Linked DNA regions of Homo sapiens: regions 1 and 3 are each linked to region 2. Evidence: promoter capture Hi-C in 16 types of primary human blood cells and fetal thymus (Javierre and others, 2016). All regions are on one chromosome and are shown on one strand. Each heading gives the region's core, a stretch centred on a gene start or on the middle of the fragment in contact. The rest is flanking DNA. Distances are from core to core; before and after follow the strand shown.

Region 1 (2,700 bases), core at 22-2,521, 660 kb before region 2:
AGTCAGCAGATACAGGGCTATGCAGGTTGTCTATTTCTTCTTGATGAGGTTTTGATTGTTCATGTCTTTGAAAGTATTTGTCCCCAAGGAGCAGAAGCCCCAGCCCAAATTTGGAAACAAGACCATGTTGTGCTGACATGTCATTCCTGAGCAGCTTAGGGGCTGTGGGGTTTGCAGACCTCTGAATGCAGCCATCTGCAGGGGGACCCTCCTCAGTGCCCTGAGAGGGGGCCTGGGCTGGGTGGTCTCTGCTGCTGGCCATCCCACTGGGCACTGCCTCCCCAGGGATTCTGCAACAGGACACCGTAAGGGGCACGGGGGACAAAGATCAGACTTTCTCTGTTTCCTTCCAGCTTTGCTCCCCAGGGAGGCAGTCCCTTCTCAGAGGAATGAAATTTAAGAAGACAGGCCCTACAATTTCACGACAAGTCTGCTTTTGACTCTCCCGTTTACTGTGTAAACTTCAGCCCTAAAACAACATACATCCTTCTGAAGTTGTTCACATATTAGCTCTTAAAACAGCAAAATCCGTGCACAATTTCCTCTCAATCCCTTAAAACATTCCTGAAAGGGGGGGAAAACAACTGTTTAAATTCACCGCCTGTTATTAAAATCTCTAGATTTGCAGAATCAGAGTGAGGTACTCAGCAGTCAGAAAACAGACTAGACAGGCCCGTGTGCACACACGCGCTGACACACGTGCACACACACACGTCCACAGGGCAGCCTTTAATAACCGCAGGCCTTCCTGTCCCAACACTGCGCGGGCCCCTGAAGGGCCGGTGTGGGTTGCAGCTCCTCAATCTCTGCTAAAGTAAACAGGGTTCAACCCTGCGGCCTTCTCAGCACTCTCCCCAAGTCAAAAGAAGGGTGCTCAGCCCCTGGTCTCTTTGGTTTGCCAAACTTCTAGTGCTGGTGAAATTCTTAAATATGACATTTTTAGAAGCTTCGGCTCCTGGCAGATAAAAATAATGTCCCCCGCTCCACCCCCTTTTCCCCCTATCCCAGTTCTAGCTAAGACAGTGATCAGAGGGGTGCACCGTCTTTGGGGTTAACAGCCATCAGCAGTGGGGTTCCCAGGCTGAAACTAAATCCTCGTTTAACTGGCCTGGAGACGGAAACAGCCCTGCCTGGGGAAGATGGGGGATTTGCTTTAAATACGTGTAAAGCTGCCTGCCAGGCGGCTAATGGTGTCTGCAGCCAGGCGTGGGCGTCTCCGGGCCATGGGCTCCCCCACCACAAATTGCAGGGCAGCCGGCTTGGGCCACTCCTGTGTGTGCGGGGCCCTGGGTATGATTCCTGGGAGGCAGCTCCCAAACTGTGGGGCTCAGCAGAGGATTCAGGGCCTGATTTGCGGGCAGCCCCACCTGCCTTTTTGACTGTTCAGAGCCCTGAGTGCCTCCCATATGCCCACATTTTCCTGCCCCTGGGCCTTTTCTTCTGGTCATCGGCCTGGAGTGCCTCCACTGGCACATTGAGTTCTGCCTTCAGAGCCTGGGTTTTCTGGTGGAATGGGGCAGGGGTAGGCTGATAGACCTCTTGGAGAGACAGGGCCCACTTTCTTGTAGGCCCACAGGGACCCCGCCTGGGGAGAGAGAAGCTTCAGGCCCTGAGGCCTATGGCCTGGACCTCTCTAGAGACCCTAGAACAGACCTCTGGCCTGGCCTTGCTGATGACCTGGAGCCCCTGGGTGCCAGCTGCAGCCCCCTGCCTGTCCAGGAGTCTGAGCTCCAGGTATCAGCGAGGTGGGTTCGTTCTGAGGCTGTGAGGGAGTGTTCCAGGCCTCCCCCAGCTACTGTGGAAGGGTTCCCGGTCGACGCATCGCACCAGACCCTGCCTCCGCCTCCATACAGCGCCCCCCGGCCGGCAAGTCCATGTCCAGGTTTCCCGTTTGATAAGAACACCAGTTGTATGGGAATAGGGGCCCACCCTAACCACCTCATCTTACCTAATAGCATCTGCAGCAACCCTATTTCCAAACAAGGTCACACTCTGAGGTGTGCTGGAGGGTCTAGGACCTCAACATATGAATTTGCGGGGCGGGGGACACAGTTTAGCCGGTAGGAATACCTACCTGTCAGAGGATTCTTTAATCCAAGGGTCCGTAAACCATAGCCTACAAACCTGGCTGCTGATCTGTATAAATAAGATTTGATTAGCACACGGCCACGTGTGCTTGTGAACATCTCATCTCTGGCTGTTTTTGTGCTATAACAGCACAAAATTGTCTGCTGGAGTTGTTGCAACAGAAATCGCGTGGCCTGCAAAGCCTAAAATATTTACTATCTGGCTTTAGAGAAAAAGCTTGTCAAGCCCTGTTCTAAACTATGAAGACAATGTTGGAGGTTGCTTTCTATACCCACAGAGCCGTTGATGGGGTGAAGGGAGAGGGGTGAAATGCAGTCACACGCAAATTCTTATCTTCCTGAGGAGAAAGCCTTAGGGAGCCCACTACAGTGGACACTGTCTTTAGAGAGTAGCAGACCTGGCTGTGAGTTTGAGGAACCAGTGAAATGAGAGTTCAGTGACATCCTCAACTTCATGAGGATCAGAACATGGATAACATGTGGCTCAACTAAACAACCAAAAGCAAAAGGGAGAAGTCAACAGAGTCAAATAGCAAATATAAGGACAGAAAGAGTCAAATCAAATGCCTCCAACTTCACACCAAATGTAAATCGCCTGAATTCCTCTTTGAAA
Region 2 (2,700 bases), core at 70-2,569:
CTTTTCTTTTCTCTCTCTCTCTTTCTCTCTCTCTCTGTCTCTCTCTCTCTCTCTGTCTCTCTCTCTCTCTCTCCAAAGCAAACACTTGGGGCAAAAGCTCCAGATGATCCAGGGCTGAGGAGGGAGGGTGAGAGCAGAGGTGGGAGACGGGAGCAACCCGCAGAGAGCGGATGGCCCTGGGGACGCAGGAGAGGCCGGGTGGGGACCAGTGTGGGAGGGGATGGGAGGGGACCGAGGGGATGGAGGCTCCTGCATCCGCCGGCCCACGGGGCTGGGTCTGTTCTGTGCAGAAGCAGCACCACCTGGTGGCCTCTGCTGGTGACATCAGGCACCTGCCAGTCCTGGGCCTCAGAGAGGGGGACAGAGCCCTGGGTGTGGTCCCCGCGGGGTGGGCAGGACAATGATGGCTGAGCAGGGCGGGGAGTAAGGAGTAGTTCCACCTCAACTCTGTAGGGGGCGAATCAGAGCCTCAGCCAGCAGGTGGCATGGACGGCGCCCACCTAGCCCAGGAGTCCGGAAGCCTGGGTTCCAATCCGGCCACTGTGGGCTGGTGGCTGGCTCTGTTTTATTGTGCAGTTTTCTCCCCTGTGACTCAGGTGCAGCAGGGTGGGGAGGGGCCGGGTAAGGGGATCTGGGCTGGGCCTGGGGGCGTGGTGCCTGTCCTCACCCCTATTCAGGAGGCTTCTCCTTTCTCTCTCCTTGCCTGACCTCTCTCCAGCTCCATTTTCTGCCTCCCTCATCCTCAGCAGGCCTGGCTGGGGGGTGGTCAGGGCCAAGTCTCTCCAGCTGTGTCCAGCCCTTGGGTGCTCAGGGTAAGAGCTAGGTGGTGGGCGGGGCTCCTCCTGGTCCTGAAAGCATCTGGGTGTGGGGTGAGCGAGGGTCGGTGGGGGTGGGCACCTCCTGGCAGGCCCTGTGGGCGGGGCAAGCCCACTTATAGGAGACCCATGGGCAGGGACTGTCCCCTGGCACCCAGCTCGGCGCCCTCCCCCAGGGCCCTCCGCAGTACCGACCTCAGCGGCTCCCGCTTCCCGGGCTGTCGGCCCAACCCCGAGTAGATGAGGGGCTTGGAGCTGCTGTTGACGCAGGCCAGCAGCGTGGCCAGCGGGGAAAACACGGGCAGCAGGAAGTTCAGCAGGGGCTGCAGGCTCCAGTAGAAGACCGAGGGCAGGCCACAGAAGAAGAGCAGGAGCAGCGCGCCCAGGACGATGCCGTAGAGCCTGGGCCGCGGGCGAGTGGAGCAGCAGGTCACCCAGACAAAGAGGACCACGCCAGCCGTCCAGGCGACGCGGGCCAGCACCAGGAACCAGGTGACGCTGGCCACGTGGTAGCGCGGGCAGACCAGGGGGCACGCGCTGTTGCGCAGCAGGCCGCAGGCGTTGGCGGGCAGCGGCACGGCCGGCAGGGTCGGGGTCCACACCAGGGCGCAGAGGACGGCCGAGGCGTGTCTGGGCCGGCAGCCCTGGTAGCAGGCGGGGAAGAGGTCGGAGAGGCAGCGCTCCACGCTGAAGGCCGCCAGCAGCCAGAGCCCCACCGCGAACCACAGGAAGGTGAGCACGAAGTAGAGTGTGTCCTGGGCGCCCAGGGCAGCCTGAGCCACGGAGAAGCCCACACGGCAGGAGAGGAACAGGAAGTCGGCGGCGGCCAGGTGCAGCAGGTAGATGGAGAAGGGGCCCTTCTTGATGCGGAAGCCGAGGTTCCAGAGCACCAGCCCGTTACCTACCGGTCCCCCGAGGCCCACGATCAGCGTCAGGTAGAAGACCACACTGTCGAAGGTTCTCCAGAGGCCGAACAGCCCAAACATCCTGGCCGGCTCAGAGGGTGCTGGCGAGGGACCTGCAAGATGGAGACAGACATGGTCCTCAGGAGTCTTTTGTGCCCCCGCTGGGGGCACAGGGAGTGGCATCCATGGCCCTGCAGGTGCCCTCTGGGTGCAGCCCCTGGACCACCCTTCCCAGCGGCGGGACCTCAGCCGGGTCTCAGCCCTCTGCACCTCAGGTCAGGCGTGCCTAATGCCTCCCCATACCTGAGGGCAGGCCCTGGGCTCCTGGCAGGGTGGACTAACTTGCTGAAAAGATGTCCATGTCCCTCATGGATGTGGTGAGGGTGATGCTGCACCCTCCACCGTGTGCCAGACAAGGGTCTGCAGACAGAGGGAACGTGCATGGGGAACCCACGTGTGGCGCCTTCCTCTTCCCCCAGAGGTGGGAGCTTCTCCACGGTGGACCCTCATGGGGCTCCCACCTGGTGAGCCTAGACCAGCCTGCTGGCGAAGTCCCCTCCCCGGAGGGTCTCTGGAGGTGTCCAGGGAGGTGCCCAAAGGCAGAGGCTGCAGGTGGTCTGAGGAGGAGGGAGGAGGGAAGATGCGGTGTGAGGAGCTGGAGGGAGCCCCCAGCCTTCCCTGTGCACTCCTGGCCTAAGCAGAAGCTGAATCCCGGGGCTCATGCTGCCGGCGGTGCACTCAGGAGGCTGCTCTGAAGCCTCAAGCCAAGAGAGGGGCTTTGGTGATGGTGGCAGGGCCAGGGGGCCTCTCCAGGAGCCACTAACACAAGGGGAGGGGCAGATACAAGTGGCCACTTGCAAGGAGCGAGGCTGAGAGTCCCGAGGATGTTCTCAGAGTGCGAGAGAGATTGGCCACCGGAAGCTGCGCTGAAAGGCAGAGGGTCTCAGAGCAGCCCTTCCCTTTCCAGCCATCCCTCCTCC
Region 3 (2,700 bases), core at 76-2,575, 700 kb before region 2:
CCGGCAGGGGGACCAGCCTCTGGGGAGGTGCTGCAGGCACAGGAGTTCTGTGTGGACCCAGCCGAAAGCTGGCAGGAAGGGACCTGTTTCTTGGGGTTCCCAGTCCAGATCTGTGTTGGAAAAAGTGTCAGCTGAAACCCCAAGAGGCTGGGGACAGCCTTGGTCCTGCTGTGGGACACAGGTTTAATCTCCAGATGGCTCCTGGATAGGCGGGCTGGCGGCTCTGTCTAACGGGGACAGCACACTTGGGGCTTCGGGAGACAATGAGGGCAGAAATCTTACCCACCGGCCACACCAAGTCACCCATTGTTGTGTCCCTTGGGCTGGGATCCCATGGCTTTCAAGAACTTTTTAAAGAAATGAGACTCAGCTGCCGCGGAACAAGCCACAGGTAAAGAGTATAAGACAGCGTGAGGCATGGGGTGGCCACGGGAGCCCTGGGCCAAGGAGGCCCAGTCTGGTGGGGAGGCGTCCATTCACCCGGAGCTGGACGGGGAGGACCAGGCTGTGGGTCTGTGAAGCGGGTGTGGGATCACATCCACGCTCCTTCTGTGGTTTGTGCCCTGTTGTGGCTGCCAGGGGAGGGGCTTCCAAGGCCCTGCCAACCAGCTGGGCAGTGTGGACAATGGCAGACAGGGTGCTGTGTGGGGGCCTGAGGGGCAATGGTTGGGGGGCAGCTGTTGCCGTTCTGGTGAGAAGTGGCGGTCCCTGAAGGGCTGGGGTGCTAGGGAGCCTCATGGACCTACTCCCGACGTGGCAGCTGCCTGCTGCAGATGGGCCAGCCATGTCCCGCCTGTGCCGGGAATCACCACCCCCAGCTCCCTTCTCTCCAACATGACAGGGTTCGGGTGATGCCCTGTGGGCTGAATGGTGAGAGAGGCGTCCCTGTGCTGACACCAGTGGGCGTGGACGTGACCCTCTTTTTAAAAGAATTTTTTCAGATGCAATTCCATTAAGGATCTGGAGGTGAGAGGATGAAAAGGAAACTCTGAGCTTTGAGTACATTTTTAATTATGTTTTAAAAATTAAGACATGAGGCCGGGCATGGTGGCTTACGCCTGTAATCCCAGCACTTTGGGAGACTGAGTTGGGAGGATCGCTTGAGCCCAGGAAATCGAGGCTGCAGTGAGCCAGGATCATACCACTGTCCTCCAGCCTGGGTGACAGAACAAGACTCTGTCTCAAAAACAAAACAAAACAAAACAAAAAACCAAAAAACAACAACAACTAATATATGTTTTTGACCAATACCTAATTCTGTTGTTTAAGAATTCAAAATCTACCAATAGTGATCATAAGTAATGTATTAAATACTTACATAGTACAGCAGGTGTTGGCCCCCCCCCACAACATTGGTTTCCATCCCTGGAAGCTGCAAATGTGACCTGACATAGAAAACACCCCTTTGCAGCTGAGGCTGAGGGTCCCGAGAGGCGTGATTGCATTATCCAGGGGGCCCAAGTCCAGTGACACGTGTCCTCCTAAAAGACAGGACAGATTCAACAAAGGAGGATCCGGCCACATGCTGCACAGCACGGGAGTGATGCCGCCACCCACCCAGGACGCGGGAGCCCGCAGAGGCTGGAAGGCTGAAAAGGGCCCTGTCGCCCCCACCCCCCAGGATGACGTATGGCCTGATGTGGCATTCCTGCCTCAGGACCATGGCACCAAGTGGTGGCGCTGGGGCCCCTGGAGTCGGCCAGTCTGGGCACGTCCCATGCTGTGTCTGAGCCTCAGTGTCCCCATCGATTGGTAGTGCCTCCTGAACCCCAATCCAGGGGGCTTCTGGGGGGCAGCCTGGGACCAGACGTGCCTCACCAGGGCTTCTGTCTCCTCACCAGGACTTCCATGATGTGACACCTTCCACATGGGGTTCAGAGCGGGGAACCTGTGCCTAGTGTCCAGCCCAGCGTGGGGCCCTCGGTGTGGGCCAGGGCTCACCCCTTTGGGAGGGGTCGGGAGATGCCTGGCCCAGGCTCCATCCATGCAGAGCCAGGAAGCAGGTGAACCTGTGGGGACCTTGGCGACCTCCAAACCCTGCTGAGGCTGCCTGCTGACAGCCACTGGTGAGGGGGGTGACAGCCACTGGTGAGGGGGGTGACCAGCTGGTAGCTTTTTCTGAGGTGCAGATTCAGCCCTGGGGAACAGCCCTGGCAGGCTGTGAGACCTCTGCCCCTGGGCGTCCACATCCCAGGGCTCTGAGCTCAGCAGCCCTGGAGCCGGCAGCCACATCAGGGATGGAGGGAGACCTGCTGGTGACCAGTGAGTGAGCAGGGGAAGCCTGTCCTCTCCAGCGCCCAGTGTTTCCTTCCTGGGGCACATGGGATTTGGAGGCATTTGGAGTCTCCCAGGATGACTTTTTTTTTTAAGCCCCTAGAAGTGGTTTGGGGTTTAAGCGTCAATATTTAATCTCTTGAAGTTACACATTCAAGGCCCTATCCTGCCTTCGGCTTTAGGTTCGCTTCACAAACCCATTGTCTGCTTATCAGCCTGGCGAGGTCCCGTCCCCAGTAGGGGTCTTTGAACATTGCTCGATCTCATTCACCAGCCACGGGGAACATTTTGAACCCTCTGATGCTTGCTCTATGAATGTTGTTTGCTTTAAAAAAAGTTTTTTTTTTATTGTGATAAAATACACATAACACACAATTTACCGTCTTAACTCTGTGTCAGGTCACGGCCCAGTGGCAATAGGTACAT

The links. The method cuts DNA at HindIII sites, captures the fragments that hold promoters and counts their contacts. A CHiCAGO score of 5 or more calls a contact.
Region 1: a contact is called between a fragment that was not itself captured here and the fragment with the promoter of MRGPRG-AS1 in region 2, in 4 of 17 cell types (naive CD8 T cells, total CD8 T cells, activated CD4 T cells and 1 more). The highest score is 6.6, in naive CD8 T cells.
Region 3: a contact is called between a fragment that was not itself captured here and the fragment with the promoter of MRGPRG-AS1 in region 2, in 5 of 17 cell types (non-activated CD4 T cells, M1 macrophages, naive CD8 T cells and 2 more). The highest score is 7.1, in non-activated CD4 T cells.

What each region holds. Positions count from the first base shown.
Region 1 is chr11:2,554,310-2,557,009 of GRCh38, forward strand. All of the region lies in intron 2 of KCNQ1 (potassium voltage-gated channel subfamily Q member 1), which reads left to right. Among named protein-coding and RNA genes, the nearest start is that of KCNQ1, 110 kb to the left of the region's middle. The HindIII fragment of the contact is 654 bases long and covers 945-1,598 here.
Region 2 is chr11:3,217,013-3,219,712 of GRCh38, forward strand. MRGPRG-AS1 (MRGPRG antisense RNA 1) reads left to right here and starts at 1,320. Exons shown (of 2, transcript NR_027138.1): 1 at 1,320-1,547. It overlaps MRGPRG (MAS related GPR family member G), which reads right to left and starts at 1,801. Exons shown (of 1, transcript NM_001164377.1): 1 at 932-1,801. The coding sequence starts at 1,801. The coding sequence ends at 932. The HindIII fragment of the contact is 7,931 bases long and covers 1-2,700 here.
Region 3 is chr11:2,518,437-2,521,136 of GRCh38, forward strand. All of the region lies in intron 1 of KCNQ1 (potassium voltage-gated channel subfamily Q member 1), which reads left to right. Among named protein-coding and RNA genes, the nearest start is that of KCNQ1, 75 kb to the left of the region's middle. RefSeq lists enhancers at 1,275-1,776, 1,777-2,276. The HindIII fragment of the contact is 5,693 bases long and covers 1-2,700 here.